Regions from separate parts of the Homo sapiens genome. Here region 2 is linked to region 1. The links are contacts of gene promoters, found by promoter capture Hi-C in human tissues and cell types (Jung and others, 2019). All regions are on one chromosome and are shown on one strand. The core of a region is centred on a gene start or on the middle of the fragment in contact, and the rest is flanking DNA. Distances in the headings are between cores, read along the strand shown. Region 1 holds the start of ADCY10 (adenylate cyclase 10). Region 2 overlaps DCAF6 (DDB1 and CUL4 associated factor 6).

Region 1 (7,183 bases), core at 2,021-4,520:
TGGTCTCGAACTCCTGGGCTCAGGTGATCTGCCCGCCTCGTCCTGTCAAAGTGCTGGAATACAGGCATGAGCCACCATACCCAGCCTATGCTGTGACTTTAGACAAGTTAGGAAAGTACCTAGCAGAGTACCTGGGACATAAGTAGGTTTTCTGTAAATGTTTGTGACCTTTGGCTCCGTTGTGAGGAGAGACTGAGCATACATTACTCCACGCTACAAATAATTAACTATCTATTTGATTTGACTTTCAGTGTGGAGTGCAGAGCTTTTTTTCTAAAAGTGCTAATAAAGCCAGTCCTCATTAAAAATATAGTCAGATGAGTCAGCAAAGCAAGTTATTTCAAAATTTGAAGAAATGAGACAAAACAACTTTTTGAGTAATACTATAACCTATGAAAATTTGGCAGTTAGCAATTGAAAACCTTGTACTTTATCATCTGTCCCTTAACCATGGCCTACCATTGAGGAGAAAAGATTAGAGAGCTTGACATAGGCCACAATGAAGAGGTTCTGAAGAGTCAAACTATTATTGCTTTCATTTCATAAACCACACTGTTAAATTCATTTGTGTGTTTGGCATGGGTGTGCACACATGTGTTTCCTAGGTTAAGCATTTAGGAAAAACATTATGAAATATGACATAGACACAAAAAAGTTTATTAAAAATTTATGTGAGCTTGGTGTTTCACTTCCTTTTCATTAAAACCTCTTCTGTGCGGGGTCTCCTAAGCCCCTCTTGTCAGTCAAATTTGTTGTAGCATTTAGATACAATCATAGGCAGTCCTCCTTTCTTGTTTCTCAGAAGTTTCATTGACAAACAACCATCACATGCTTCTTTTCTTTTCTGCCCCAAAACTCTTAATCTATCCAATTTTTTAATCTTAAAAATTAAATCTTGGCCAGGTGCGGTGGCTCACGCCTGTAATCCGAGCACTTTGGGAGGCCAAGGCAGGTGAATCACCTGAGGGCAGGAGTTCGAGACCAGCCTGGCCAACATGGTAAAACCCCGTCTCTACTAATAATACAAAAATTAGCTGGGTGTGGTGGCGCACGCCTGTAATCCCAGCTACTCCAGAGGCTGAGGCAGGAGAATCACTTCAACCCAGGAGGCGGAGGTTGCAGTGAGCTGAGATCGCGCCTTTGCACTCCAGCCTGGGCGACAAGAGCAAAACTCCCATCTCAAAAAGTAACAATATGTATCCTGTCAAAAACTCTCATTGCCACTTGGAACACATAGCCTAGTTATCAGTTTCACAACTATTCTCAAAGACTTAGTAAGAATATATTAGAAGTCCTTACTATCAATGCAGTTACTGAACTCCGTAAAAATAATTTCCACAGTGGTGCAAATCGATTAGTATAGTTGAGTTGAATTCTTTATCACAGCTTTTTGACAGGTCTTTATTGATAGCTTCACTATGTAAGTTTTCTTTCTCAATGCCAAGTCTGACAGCCCTGGGTTTCAACTCAACTCTGCCACACATTAACTGTGAGACTTTGTTAACCTCTGTCTCTGACCTTTAATATTTTCAAGAGCAAAATGAGGATAATCATAGTACTGACTTCATAGGATTGTTCTAAAGATTGAGATAAGGTTTTAACACAGTGCCTGGTCCACAGTAAATATTGAAGATATGGAAAGTTCAGGAAACGGGCCAGGCGCGGTGGTGCATGCCTGAAATCCCAGCACTTTGAGAGGCCGAGGCAGGTGGATCACCTGAGGTCAGGAGTTCGCGACAAGACTGACTAACATGGTGAAACCGCATCTCTACTAAATACAAAAAAATTAGCTGGGTATGGTGGCACATGCCTGTAATCCGAGCTACTTGGGAGGCTGAGACAGGAGAATCACTTGAACCAGGGAGGTGGAGGTTGCAGTGAGCTGAGATCACGCCATTGCACTCCAGCCTGGGCAACAAGAAGAAAGTTCAGAAAATGGTAATCTTATTAATTGAAGGTAGACCCAGAAAGTACTTTTCTTTAAGTACTTTAAAGGAAGTTTTAATTTTACTACAAAAAGGATATACTGTGTTAACCTATTTGCACGGTTTCTGAACTAATAACTTTATAGCAGAAAAGAAGCTGCTTGGGGTAGAGGAGTAGTAGGTGGGGTGGAGAATGCTCAATAAGAGATAAATTCTTTAGTCTTTTTTTGTGGTATGGCATCTCTTTTAAGGAAACTTTGATCCAAGGTATGTCAGTGCTGCTGTTTCCTCATAGTAAATATTTTCTTTTTTAACTTATAAAATCATAGCGAAAGGTTGAATGTTAATGAGGATGGACCTCAAAGCTAAGGTTCCTTTCTGTAAAACAAAGGTCTCTACTGGAGCCTGTTTATATAATGAAGCAGAAATAGAAAACACTGGCATTTATTAAGAATAGCTCTCCCTAAGGGGATTGTTTAATTAAATGAGGTATGATTCTAATTATAAGACTGGTTTCCACAACTCACACCAGAAAATTCACTCAATGAACATAATTAAATGACCCTCTTGTTTTCCTCCCTAAGACAACTGTGTTTTACAACATTTGGAAGTACACAGTAAACAATTACAGAGCGGGGCTTTATAGGAGAACATGTACAGCTTTTTAAATAAGACTTTTTAAATTCCAATTTTAAAAGCTGTGCCCCTAAATGATAATTGTGGTTGTGATGATATACATAAGAACATTTAGAAAATCAACACATGATTTAAGCTGTTAGAAAACACACCAGCCTCTTAAAATACATTTTTCCAGTGTCACATCAGATAAAGAAAACTCAAATCCAGTGCCCATTGGATTTCAAGTTATCTTTGGGATAAATTTGATTAAAAGCGTGCACTTGACCAGTCAGAAAGGGCAGGTATATAATTCTTCAAACAAAAATTTACCTCACAAATATATCTGAAGGTAAGTATTGAATTTATTATAACTGGTAAATTTCATAGTCCTGGTACAAGCTGTAACCACTATTGACTAAAATTAGGTGTTTGCTTGCTCTGGAGATACTTCTGATGATCACCTACCAACTATTGCCTAATTTCAACCATCCTCCACATGGCCAAGGGAAGAATTGTGTAAACTACTCTGGGGTCATGTCAGTCTCCCCTGACCCTTGCCTCAAATGTGCGGATAAGAGAACCTGAAACAGCCAGTCCTTCCTTGTACAGTAGTAGGCCACTCAGGTTGGTGGGGGAGGGGACGGCAGTGCCACCCAATCAGAAACATGGTCGGTGCCCGTGGAACAATGAGCTACTGATGAGGGTGTGGCCTGGAAAACGGCTTTTAGACAAAACTGTCATTTTATGGGTCAGCTATAGACAGACATGGCGCTTCAGCTGTCTTCAGAATAATGTCACCCGGCCTCCTCTCCTGTCTTCTGCAGTCTTAAAAGACCTAGTCCCTAACTGAGGTCTGGCTTTTCCTCAGCCCTGGATGAAGTGGAGGTATGTGGAAGTAAGAGTCTCAGCAGAAAGATTGATTGCAGAGCTGAAGATGAGGGCGACCGTCAGGAAAGAAGACAGCTATTGCAGAGGAGTGGGAAGCCTGGGGCTAGAAGTCAGGGTTCAAGTTTGTGTATACCTCTGTGTCAGTCCCTTACATGAGCTTAGAAGCTTGAAGGCTTAAATATTGCCTCACCTTCTCAACCTGGATGCTCTGTCTTTCTAGCTTACTTTCTTTATTTGCCTCTTTTCTGCAGTTTCTCACGTGATATCCTCCTTTTTATCAGTCAACAACTACCAAGTGCCTACCTCTTGAAGGGGGCTCTGGCAAGGTGCTGTGGAGTAAACAAAGATATGTAGAAGATGGTTCCAAACGGGGAGCTTACAATTCAGATGAAGACAAAATAGAAGCAATTCAAAAGATAATCAAGGATATTTGTATGGGAAATAAGCCACTTAAGTGTAGACATTAAGAGCCACAATAGCTCAGAAGAAAAATTACCATGGCTAGAGTAGGCAAGCAAGCTTTCATGACAGGTAACACTGTGCCTTTAAGTTCAGAGTATCTCCCTCTTTGGACTCGTGAAACCTGACTTTACATGTAGGTGAAAAGTTGAATATAAAATCTATTAGGAAATTCTAGAGGAGAGATTTAGAGAAACTGATGAATATAATCGAACCCTAATTTCTCTTTTCATTTTTGGGTACTACTGAGTTTTCTTTACTCACACTCCGCATTCAGGAATCCTTCTTGGTTTATCTTTCGGGCCTCATTCGCCTGCTTGCCTTTTGACTCAGGTATCCTCATTTCTCATTCCAAGGTGCTTCCGCGCTTTGTCAGTACCCATGCTGTTCATGCTGTATTCTTGATGTGATAGAATTGGCTGAACAGTTGATAAGGGTACCATCAACATGCATTGAAAGTGCTCTTAAATTAAACCTACATCTTTTGTCTAGGTCATATACATCCCCAAAGTGCTATAAAGCGTATACAAATGGGATATAGCATGATATAGTAGAAACAACAGGGACTTTCAAGTCCCACAGACCTGGATATTCCAGCTTTATAACCCAGAGCAAGTTAATACCTCTGTGCTTCAGTTTTCATATCTATAGAAATCAGGTCTACTTCATAGCGCTGTTTGGATGATTAAATGAGGCAACCTATGTAGAATTGATACGGCTCCGATGAGTGGAGGAACACCAAGGTTCTTAGTCCTCATCCCGGTTTAGATAAAACGACACAGACACATGTGGAGTGATTTTAAGGATCGGAGAGTTTAATAGGCAAGAAGGAAGAGGAAAGAGGGAAGAAGCTCCCCCATACAGAGACAGAGGGAGGGGGGCTCCAAAGCCGAGAGAGGGAACCCCCAGTGGGGTGGACGTCAGCTAGGTATATATTACAGACGCTGGAGGAGGCAGTGTCTGATTTGCATAGGGTTCAGGGGATTGGTTTGACCAGGCATGTCATTCACAAAGCCCTTGAAAAAGCTAGCCCTCTCACCCTAGCCTTTTAATATGCAAATGCAGGGTGCCATGATGTTCTACACACGTGGGAGTATGTGGAGGTGGCCATGTTGCCAGGAACATGTGGGGCAAGGGAAAGAAGGCCTCCGGAATCGCCATGTTGGGTGGGCCCTGTTTCTAATGGCCTTCATTTGCTTATCAAAGGTTGCCGGCCTGGCTCTAAGAGCCAAGGCTTTACAAGAAATTTTCTGGAGATGCTTTAAAAAATGAAAATTTCCCAAGGACCCCTTTTCCTCTCTATCTGCCTAAAATAATTTCTTAATAACTCCTACAATAGAATGCTTCACATAAAAAGGTCATAATAAATTATAATTACAATGTGGTATGTGCCTGTAGAAAGGTAAATACAGCTATCACTAATCATTTTGTGATGTTGCAGAACTTAAAGCAGAAAACTATATCTTCAAAAATAGAAAATTTCTATTGTCTTTTATGGGTGTTCATAAGAAACTCCCAGATATTTATTTTAGATCTCCCTGCCTTTTAAACCTATCATTTTCTTCTTTTAGTTTCACATCTACATATGCCATCTTAATCTCAAAATGCATGTACTTTCCTTGTTTGGTCATCATAAACAGAAAAATCTGTCCAAGTTCATTCACATCACCTTAATTAAAACAATAGAATCTTAACAATCATCTAATTCATCTCTACACTGACTAAAATCACCTCTGTTTGAAACGCTTGTTCTCCAATGCCATAAAGAAATAGCACTTGAACATAAATTTATTTAGTAAGGGCATTTTTACTTCCTGCAGAGAGGGTATACTCGCCAGCAGTTTTGCCACGAGAGTACACTGAACAAAGGAGACGGGGTCATTTATAACCTGACACGTTCACCCTACTGCCCATTGGCCGGAACAGGACCTCACATTCTGTATTTGTCCCGATCGGCTAGCAACTTAGAACTTTTAAAAGAGGCAAAGGTAGAGGAGAACAAAAGAAGGAGGAAGTAACTTGTGGAATGCTGAGAAAAGTAAAAATACTTTTAAATAAGGAAGAGGAACAGGCTATGACCTAATGGTTGCTTGGACCAGTATAAGCATGCCAGGGCAAATATTTAGGCTACATTGTGGGAGCCAAGAACATAAAGTACATTGATTTCTTTATTATGGCTAGCAGATATTTAAGAATGTTAGCACAGGTCTTTGAATAAATTTTGCTTTTAAGATAAGTTACTATTTATTCCTAATTAGACGGGGAGGAAAGTCTTTGAAGAGGAACCTCTACTTTACTTTTTATACCTCTACCCTCACAGGTAGATAGCTATTCAACACTTCCTAAAACTGCCCAGTTTGAACACTCATTCTTACATTGTTTATATTTGTCCTTCGGTGATTGCCAGTCATTGATCCTAGTTGATCCTGAGCAACAAAGAATAAACCTAACCCACTTTCCATCCAGTGTTAACAACTTTAGCAAAACAGTCTATACTATGCATGTGAGGAGAGTGTGGTATTGCCAAGATTGAAGGGGCTGATAGTAGGGCTGCTAGAAAGAATGCAATGTTTGGAATATATTTATACTAAAAAATTGTTTATTTAAAATTCAGATTTAACTGAGCATCCTCTGTTTTCATTAGCTCAGTCTTTCAATCTTACAAGCTTGGTAGCTAAAGAAGTCAAAGTTGAGCCAGTGAACTGGGGGCAGGAGAGGGAAGAATAGAGCTACGCCCTGCTCAGTTCTGCTCAGTCCTATCTTAGTTCTCTGGCTACTCAGCACATCTGTGGAAGCCACTTCAGAGCACCCATGCCTACGGAACATACTGTTTACAGTCACTTATTCTTTGATAACTAGCTCCCTCCACTGAAGAAAAACACACCAACTTTCCTTTCCCACTGCATACTTCCCATGAACTTTAATCTTGCTAACCCAAACCAAATTTCTACCTCAAGGAGAAGGTAGGGAAGTTGTTCTTTGATTGCAGGGTCCCACATTACACCTTGCATACACACCCATGTCCCCCACTTAGCCCACGTCCACCACTTACCCCACAACTTTCACAGTTCAGCCCAAATATTTGAAGACAACTACAATTTTAACCAAAATGTCATAATTTTCTGACTTATTTCCAGTCTCTGCCATCATTCCTCACATTCCAGAGTCAATGAATTTTAAAGAGGTCAATGAACTTCAGTCCTCTGGATTAGATTTGAACACTTTTATGTATCTTAAAATTGCATTGCATCCAAATAGCTAGTTAACATATGAAAAGGTGCTTAATCTCCTTA
Region 2 (7,441 bases), core at 2,118-4,617, 51 kb before region 1:
TTCCTCTCAGTTCCAAATTTACCCTTCACTTTTATAGATTATGCAATGGAACTGAGTCCTTCAAATATTTTTCCTTTGCCAGTTGGCATGATGTTAAGCTTTGCCAGTAAAAAGCACTGAAAGAATAATGCAGGAAAACGGAGTTTGCTTCCTATCTCTAATGGGAGCTCCTGCAACCATGCACAGGTTTTCCAGTGCCAGGGTCTTCCAGCACGGGCAGTTTCCCCAACACCATAGCACCAGAGTCCTGCAGTTTCACCAGGGCCCACCTACTAAATGAACAGTTCAACACCCGACAGCTTCTCCTGCCTCATTTCCCCACGTCCCTAGACATTTTGTAGCATACTACCTCTGATGAGAAACCTCTCCTTAAAAAGTATTTCTCAGTGCTCTAGAGAGAGGTGTTCCACCAAGTTCCAGAGGGGAATTCGCAACAAGTTACACTAGCATGACATCACAGAGACTTCCCTGCCATCCAGTGAGCCATGACACCCTCTTCAATAAGGTCTAAATCTCAGCACTCAGCACGGGGGGGTCTCTTCTTTTCAGTGGTTTATCTCAGTCCCAGGGTTAGTGGCGGTTCATAGTATCTGTTATTTCTGTATTTTATAGAGACCTTTTTACTTTTTAGCAGCCAAGCCTTTACTACTCCAATCTCCTGATATAGGTAGTAATTCTTTTTATTACACTTTCCCTATTGAAATTACTGTGTGGTTTCTTTGACTAGAACCCGACTGATACAATCACCAATACACGGTTGCTACTACCATAAAAAATTAAAAGCTGGAGTACATTTTTGGAATTACTATTAAAATAATAGATGTTAAAAGACTTAAAGATACAAGAAATTTGGGCTGGGCGTGGTGGCTCATGCCTGTAATCCCAACACTTTGGGAGGATGAGGTGGGCAGATCACTTGAGGTCAGGAGTTCAAGACCAGCCTGGCCAACATGGTGAAACCCTGTCTCTACCAAAAACATAAAAATTAGCCGAGCATGGTGGCACACACCTGTAATCCCAGATCCTTGGGAGGCTGAGGCAGGAGAATCGCTTGAACGCAGGAGGCAGAGGTTGCAGTAAGCCGAGATCGCACCACTGTACTCCAGCCTTCCAGCCTGGGTGACAGAGTGAGACCTTGCCACAAAAAAAAAAAAAAAAAAAAAAAAAAGATACAGGAAATTTAAGACAATCAGGAGAGAAAAATGTATCATGTGAGTTGGGAGGCAGCTAGGAAATATACATATTCCTATTCTTAACTGGAACTTTAAATGATGTGTTGAATGTTTAAGATCTTACAAATTTTAAAATAACTATTTAGTCATATTTCTAAAACAGAAGGTTTCTCATTTAACTGTTATGTCAAGTGTAAAGAACATCACACACTTTCTTTTTATTACAATCAGTCAGCTGTTTATAGCTTTATCATTCAGTATCTTAATTTCTCTGAAACCATCCTTGTAAAGGAAACATTCTGTGGATAAAATGGAATGCTATTTGAAACAGTAATTAAAGTTACTTGAGAGTTAGAAAATTATTTAATTCTTAGATATCTCTTGCCTTCTAGTGAGGGAGTTTATTAGCTTATGGTAATTTTTTTCTTCATTGAAACCATTTTAATTTTCTCAGTACCTCAAGAACTATTCACACCGCAGTCATTTGGCTGTTTTTGTCTTTAAAAGTTTTAAATGTAAATTTTCTAAAAGACTAAATTTCAAATTTTTAAGAAAACGAAACAATGACCAAAGTTGGCAGCTTTACCCACACTATTCTTAACATTAAAATAAGTAACTTTTTAGAATGTTAAGATAATATATTAAGGTAACACATAAAAGTAATTTTCTCATTAACTCATACTTTATTTATGGCACATTTTCCCCCAAAAAATGTTATTGAAATAATGTCACTTGTACCAATTATTAACCATTTAAATAAAGTATATTTAAATTTTCTAGATCCCAAGGCTGAATAAAATCTTGTTTCCCTAAGTAATCTAAGAGACCCACATGTACCTAAGAACCTCTAAATTATACAATAAACCTCAGCAAAATAGGGAGGATATTCTAATATAAATGCCCATTCTATGACTGTTCACAGTTTCTTCATTTCTGCCTTCTTGATTTTTTTTCTCTCATTAAATTACAGATTTTTTAAACTACTTTACCTTTCTGCTGTAAGGATTACTAATTACTAATTTGGTGTCATCTGAGCCAGATAAAATATATTCTCCAGTGTCATTCCAACAGATTGTATTAACCTAAAGAGAAAGCAAAAAAGAAATATAAGCAAATTGGACATAAAAGAAAATATGCCATCTTTCACTCACCTGGCGGTACAAAATTTTTACCACTAATGAGGTTATACGTTAAAAAGTATTTAACATAGGGGTGTCCAATCTTATGGCTTCCCTTGGCCACAGTAGAAGAAGAAGAATTGTCTCCGGCCACACATAAAATACACTAACACTAACAATAGCTGATGAGCTAAAAATAAATAGCAAAAAAATCTCATAATGTTTTAAGAAAGTTTATGAATTTATGTGGGCCACATTCAAAGCTGTCCTGGGCCTCATGCAGCCCACGGGCCGTGTGTTAGACAAGCTTGATTTAATAGTTGATGTATTAAAAAAACAAGCTTCCAGTTTCCAGTTCCACACGTAAGAAGCTTAGCAGTTGCCACTCCATACTAACAACAAATAAAAAGTTAACAAACTGTAAAATCAATAACTGATCTTGGATCCTTCAGAGAGGTAAGGACACAGGACAAAATGCTACCCCCTAGATTGCAGAGATGAACAGGTAAACACAAGGAGTCTTGGCTTACCAGAGCACAGACTCATGAGCAGAAACCTCTGTGAGAAACAGAGCTAGGGTAGGAAAACCTGAACTATAATTGATGAATTGTTGGAGGTTCAGAAAGCGTTAAGTCTGAATGTTAAAAACTCCAGGGAAGGCCGGGCGCGGTGGCTCACGTCTATAATCCCAGCACTTTGGGAGGCCAAAGCGGGTGGATCACCTGATGTCAGAGGTTCGAGACCAGCCTGACCAATATGGCGAAACCCCGTCTCTACTAAAAATACAAAAATTAGCCGGCCATGGTGGCATGCGCCTGTAATCCCAGCTACTCGGGAGGCCTCAGCCTCCCGACAGGAGAACTGCTTGAACCCAAGAGGTGGAGGTTTCAGTGAGCCAAGATCGTGTCACTGCACCCAGCCTACGCGACAGAGCAAGACTCTGTCTCAAAAAAGAAAAAAACTCCAGGGAACCCAGTCATGCGGTGGGGGTATGGTGCAGAGGGTGTTTTTGTGATTTGATTTTAACTTCAGAGCTCAACCAGATTTTCACAATAAATTTCAGATTAAAATCACCTTGTACATCCAGCAGAGGGAGGGAAAAAGAAACCATTTTGGGTATCCCAGAGTACTCTAACTTTCTTAACAAGATCTGCCCTTAAGAAAAGCTATTTCACCACAGCCTACCCACTGAGGTTTTATTAGAGCCTAACTGACCTAGACAAACAGAAATACCCAATTCCAGCCTTCCGCATTGGGGAAGGAAAATACATAACTCCAGCCTAATCTACTAACCTGTTCCACCTCAGTTGGGAATAGGAGGTGCTGATAATCCCTTGTGAAGCCCACAGTTCAGACGTATAGGCTCTTTAAGTGACAGACACCTAATCATAGGCCTGTAGAACACTTCCTCTCCTCCTACACTTTACCAGTAAATTCCTAAGGACCTATTTATACCATTACTTTTAATAAGTACTTCATGTCCAGTTATTAAGAAAAATTACAAGCCATACTAAAAGGCAAAAATACAATTTGAAGGGATAAAGCCAGCATCAGAACCAAACATAGCAGGACTGTTGGAACTGTAAGACCAGGAATCCGAAACAACTATGATTAGCATGCTAAGAGTTCCAATGGATAAAGTAGACAGCATGTAAGAAGAGATGGGCAATGTCAGCAGAGAGACGGAAATCCTAAGAATAAAAAGGAAATGGTAGCAATCAAAAACAATGTAACAGAAAGGAACAATGCCTCTGATGGGCGTATTAGTAGACTAGACACAATTGAGGAAACAATCTCTGACCTTGAGGATATATCAATAAAAACGTACAAAACTGAGAAGCAAAAAGAACAAAGACTGAAAAAAAGCAAAACAAAACATAATGTCCAAGGAATGTGGGACAACTACAAAAGGCATAACTCATGTATAATGTGAATACCAGAGGAGAAGGAGAAAAGAACAGAATATCTGAAATAATAATGACTGATAATTTCCTCCAAATGAATGTGAGAAACCAAACCATAGATCCAGTAAGCTCAGAGAACAATAATCAGGATAAATACAAAAAGAACTACAGCTAGGCAAGCATTTTTCAAACTAAAGAAAATCAAAGATAAGAAAAAATCCTGAAAGAAGCTGGAGGAAAAAACATTATCTATAGAGGAGCAAAGATAAGAATTACATCCAACATCTCCTCAGAAATCATGTAAGCAAGAAGAGTGAAATATTTAAAGCAGTAACGGAAACAAAACAAAGCAAAACCAACCTAGAATACTGTACCCCGCAAAATTATCCTTCAAAACTAAAGGAGAAATAAAACTTTTCTCAGATAAATTAACATTGAGGGAATTTGTTGCCAGCAGACCTACTTTGCAAGAAATTACAAAAGGAGTTCTTTAAAGAAAAGGAAAATAAACATAGGTCAGAGACATATATCTACATAAAGAAAGAAGGAGCACTGAAGGAGGAATAAGTGAAGATAAAACACAAACTTTCATTTTACTTATTCTTAATTGAGCTAACAAATTATTTTATTGTTCAAAATAACAGCAACAATGTATTTGATCATCTATGCTTATATCTAGCACATATACAAAAATATGCTTATGAGTGCTTATAAATAAGTGAAATGAATAACAGAAATAGTACAAGGTATAAGATGGAAGATTTAAAATTACTTTGTACTCACACTCCCTGTGAATCATTATAGTGTTATTTGAAATAAAGTGGACTTAGATTTGTTGTACATGTATAGTGAAAACTTTAGGGCAAATAATTAAAAAGTTTAAAAAATAGGTGTAACTAATAAATACTAAGGAAGGAGAAAAAAAAAACTATATGAAATGCTCAATTAAAACCACAAAAGGTCCAGGCATGGTGACTCACACCTGTAATCCCAGCACTCTGGGAGGCCAAGGTGGGTGGATCACTTGAGGTCAGGAATTAGAGACCAGCCTGGCCAACATGGTGAAACCCCATCTCTACTAAAACACAAAAATTAGCTGGGTGTGGTGGCATCCCAGCTACTCAGGAGGCTGAGGCAGGAGAATCACTTGAACCTGGGAGGCGGAGGTAGCAGTGAGCTGAGATTGAACCACTCTACTCCAGCCTGGGTGGCAGAGTGAGACTCCATCTCAAAAGGGAAAAAAAAAAAAAACAGAAACAAAAAAAACACAAAAGGCAGAAGAATGGAAAACAAAAATAGGAACAAGGAACAAAGACAAAAAGCAGAAACAGTTAACAAATATAGGAAATATTAATCCAACTATACCAGTAATCCCTTTGAATGTCAATAGTCTAAATTAAAAATTATTATTTTGGTTTTTTTTTTGAGACAGAGTTTCACGCTTTTGCCCAGGCTGAAGTGAAGCAGCACGATCTCAGCTCACTACAACCTCCGCCTCCTGAGTTCAAGCGATTCTCCCGCCTCAGCCTCCCGAGTAGCTGGGATTACAGGTGCCTGCCAGCCACTATGCTTGGCTAATTTTTGTATTTTTAGTAGAGCCAGGGTTTCACCATGTTGCCCAGGCTGGTCTCGAACTCCAGACCTCAGGTGATCCACCCGCCTTGGCCTCCCAAAGTGCTAGGATTACAGATGTGAGCCACCACGCCTGGCAACATTTTTGTTTGTTTGTTTTTTGAGATGGAGTCTCGCTTCATCGCCAGGCTGGCGTGCAGTGGTGCTATCTCCGCTTACTACAACCCTCTGCCTCCTGGGTTCAAGCAATTCTCCTGCCTCAGCCTCCCAAGTAACTGGGATTATAGGCATGTGCCACCATGCGTGGCTAATTTTTGTATTTTTAGTAGAGACAGAGTTTTGCCACGTTGGCCAGGCTGGTCTTGAACTCCTGACCTCAGGTGATCGCCCACCTCGACCTCCCAAAGTGCTGGGATTACAGGGGTGAGCCACCGCACCCAGCCTAAAAATTAAGACAGAGACTGTCAGAGTGGATCAAAAAACAAGATCCAAATATATGTTGTTTACAAGAAATCCATTTTAAATATAAAGATCCATATGGATTAAAAGTAAATGGATTGAGAAAAATATATCATACTAATACAAATCAAAAGAAAACAGGAGTAGTTACATTAATTTCAGACAGACCAGAGTTCAAAGCAAGAAAAATTATCAGGGAAAAAGAAGGGTATTTCATAACGATAAAGAGGTCAGTTTCCCCAAGACAACATAGTTTCCCAATCCCTAACATGTATGTGCTTAACAACAGAGCATCGAAATATGTGAGATAAAAACTGACAGAACTATAAAGAGAAACAGATGAATCTAGTATGATACCTGGAGACTTCAATTCCCTCTATCAGAAACAGACAGACCTAGCAGGCAGAAAATCAGTAAGGACACAGTTAAACTCAAAACCATCAATTACCTGAATATAACGGACATTTATAGACTACTTCATTCAACAACAGCAGAATATACAGTCCTCTAAAGCTCACATGAAACATTTACCAAGACAGACCACACTTGAGGCCTTAAAATACACTTTATCAAATTTAAAAGAATAAAAATCAAACAGTGTCTACTCTTAGACCACAATGGAATTAAACTAAAATCAGTAACAGAAAGATAACTGGAAAATCCCAAAATACACACAAGTTCAAAATAACACATCGGTCAAAGAAGAAATCTCAAGAGAAATTTTAAAAGATTCTGAATTCAATGAAATCAAAACAAGACTAATTAAAATCTGTGAGGTGCAACAAAGTAGTTCTCAGAGGAAATTTTACAGCATTTCTGAAATCCAAAATACTTTGAGCATCATGTGGCACTCAAAAAGTTTCAAATTTTGGAGCATTTCAATTTTCAGATTTTCAAATTAAAGACACTCAACCTGTAGAATATCAAAAACAAGACAAGGATGTCCTCTCTCACCACTTCGTTTCAACACCATACTTTAAGTCCTAGCTAATGCAGTAAGACAAGAAAAGGAAGGAAAAGCAAAGGAAAAGTATGAAGATTGGAAAAGAAATAAAACGGTCTTTGTAGATAACAAGATCATCTATATGGAAAATAAAATTTTAAAAACCCTCCTGGAGGCCAGGCACAGTGGCTCACGCCTGTAATCCCAGCATTTTGGGAGGCAAAGGAGGGCGGATCACGGGGTCAGGAGATCAAGACATCCTGGCTAACACGA

What was found. The method cuts DNA at HindIII sites, captures the fragments that hold promoters and counts their contacts. A contact is called where the count stands out against the background at its distance.
Region 2: a fragment that was not itself captured here is called in contact with the fragment with the promoter of ADCY10 in region 1 in 2 of the 25 tissues and cell types used here (adrenal gland and ovary).

The regions. Positions count from the first base shown.
Region 1 is chr1:167,910,221-167,917,403 of GRCh38, reverse strand. ADCY10 (adenylate cyclase 10) reads left to right here and starts at 3,270. Exons shown (of 33, transcript NM_018417.6): 1 at 3,270-3,428. It overlaps MPC2 (mitochondrial pyruvate carrier 2), which reads left to right. Exons shown (of 6, transcript NM_001143674.4): 6 at 1-729. It also overlaps a transcript of DCAF6 not described here. RefSeq lists enhancers at 2,889-3,565, 3,566-4,242. The HindIII fragment of the contact is 16,444 bases long and covers 1-3,773 here.
Region 2 is chr1:167,961,442-167,968,882 of GRCh38, reverse strand. It overlaps DCAF6 (DDB1 and CUL4 associated factor 6), which reads right to left. Exons shown (of 22, transcript NM_001198956.2): 3 at 2,162-2,254. Among named protein-coding and RNA genes, the nearest start is that of MPC2, 28 kb to the right of the region's middle. The HindIII fragment of the contact is 4,037 bases long and covers 1,349-5,385 here.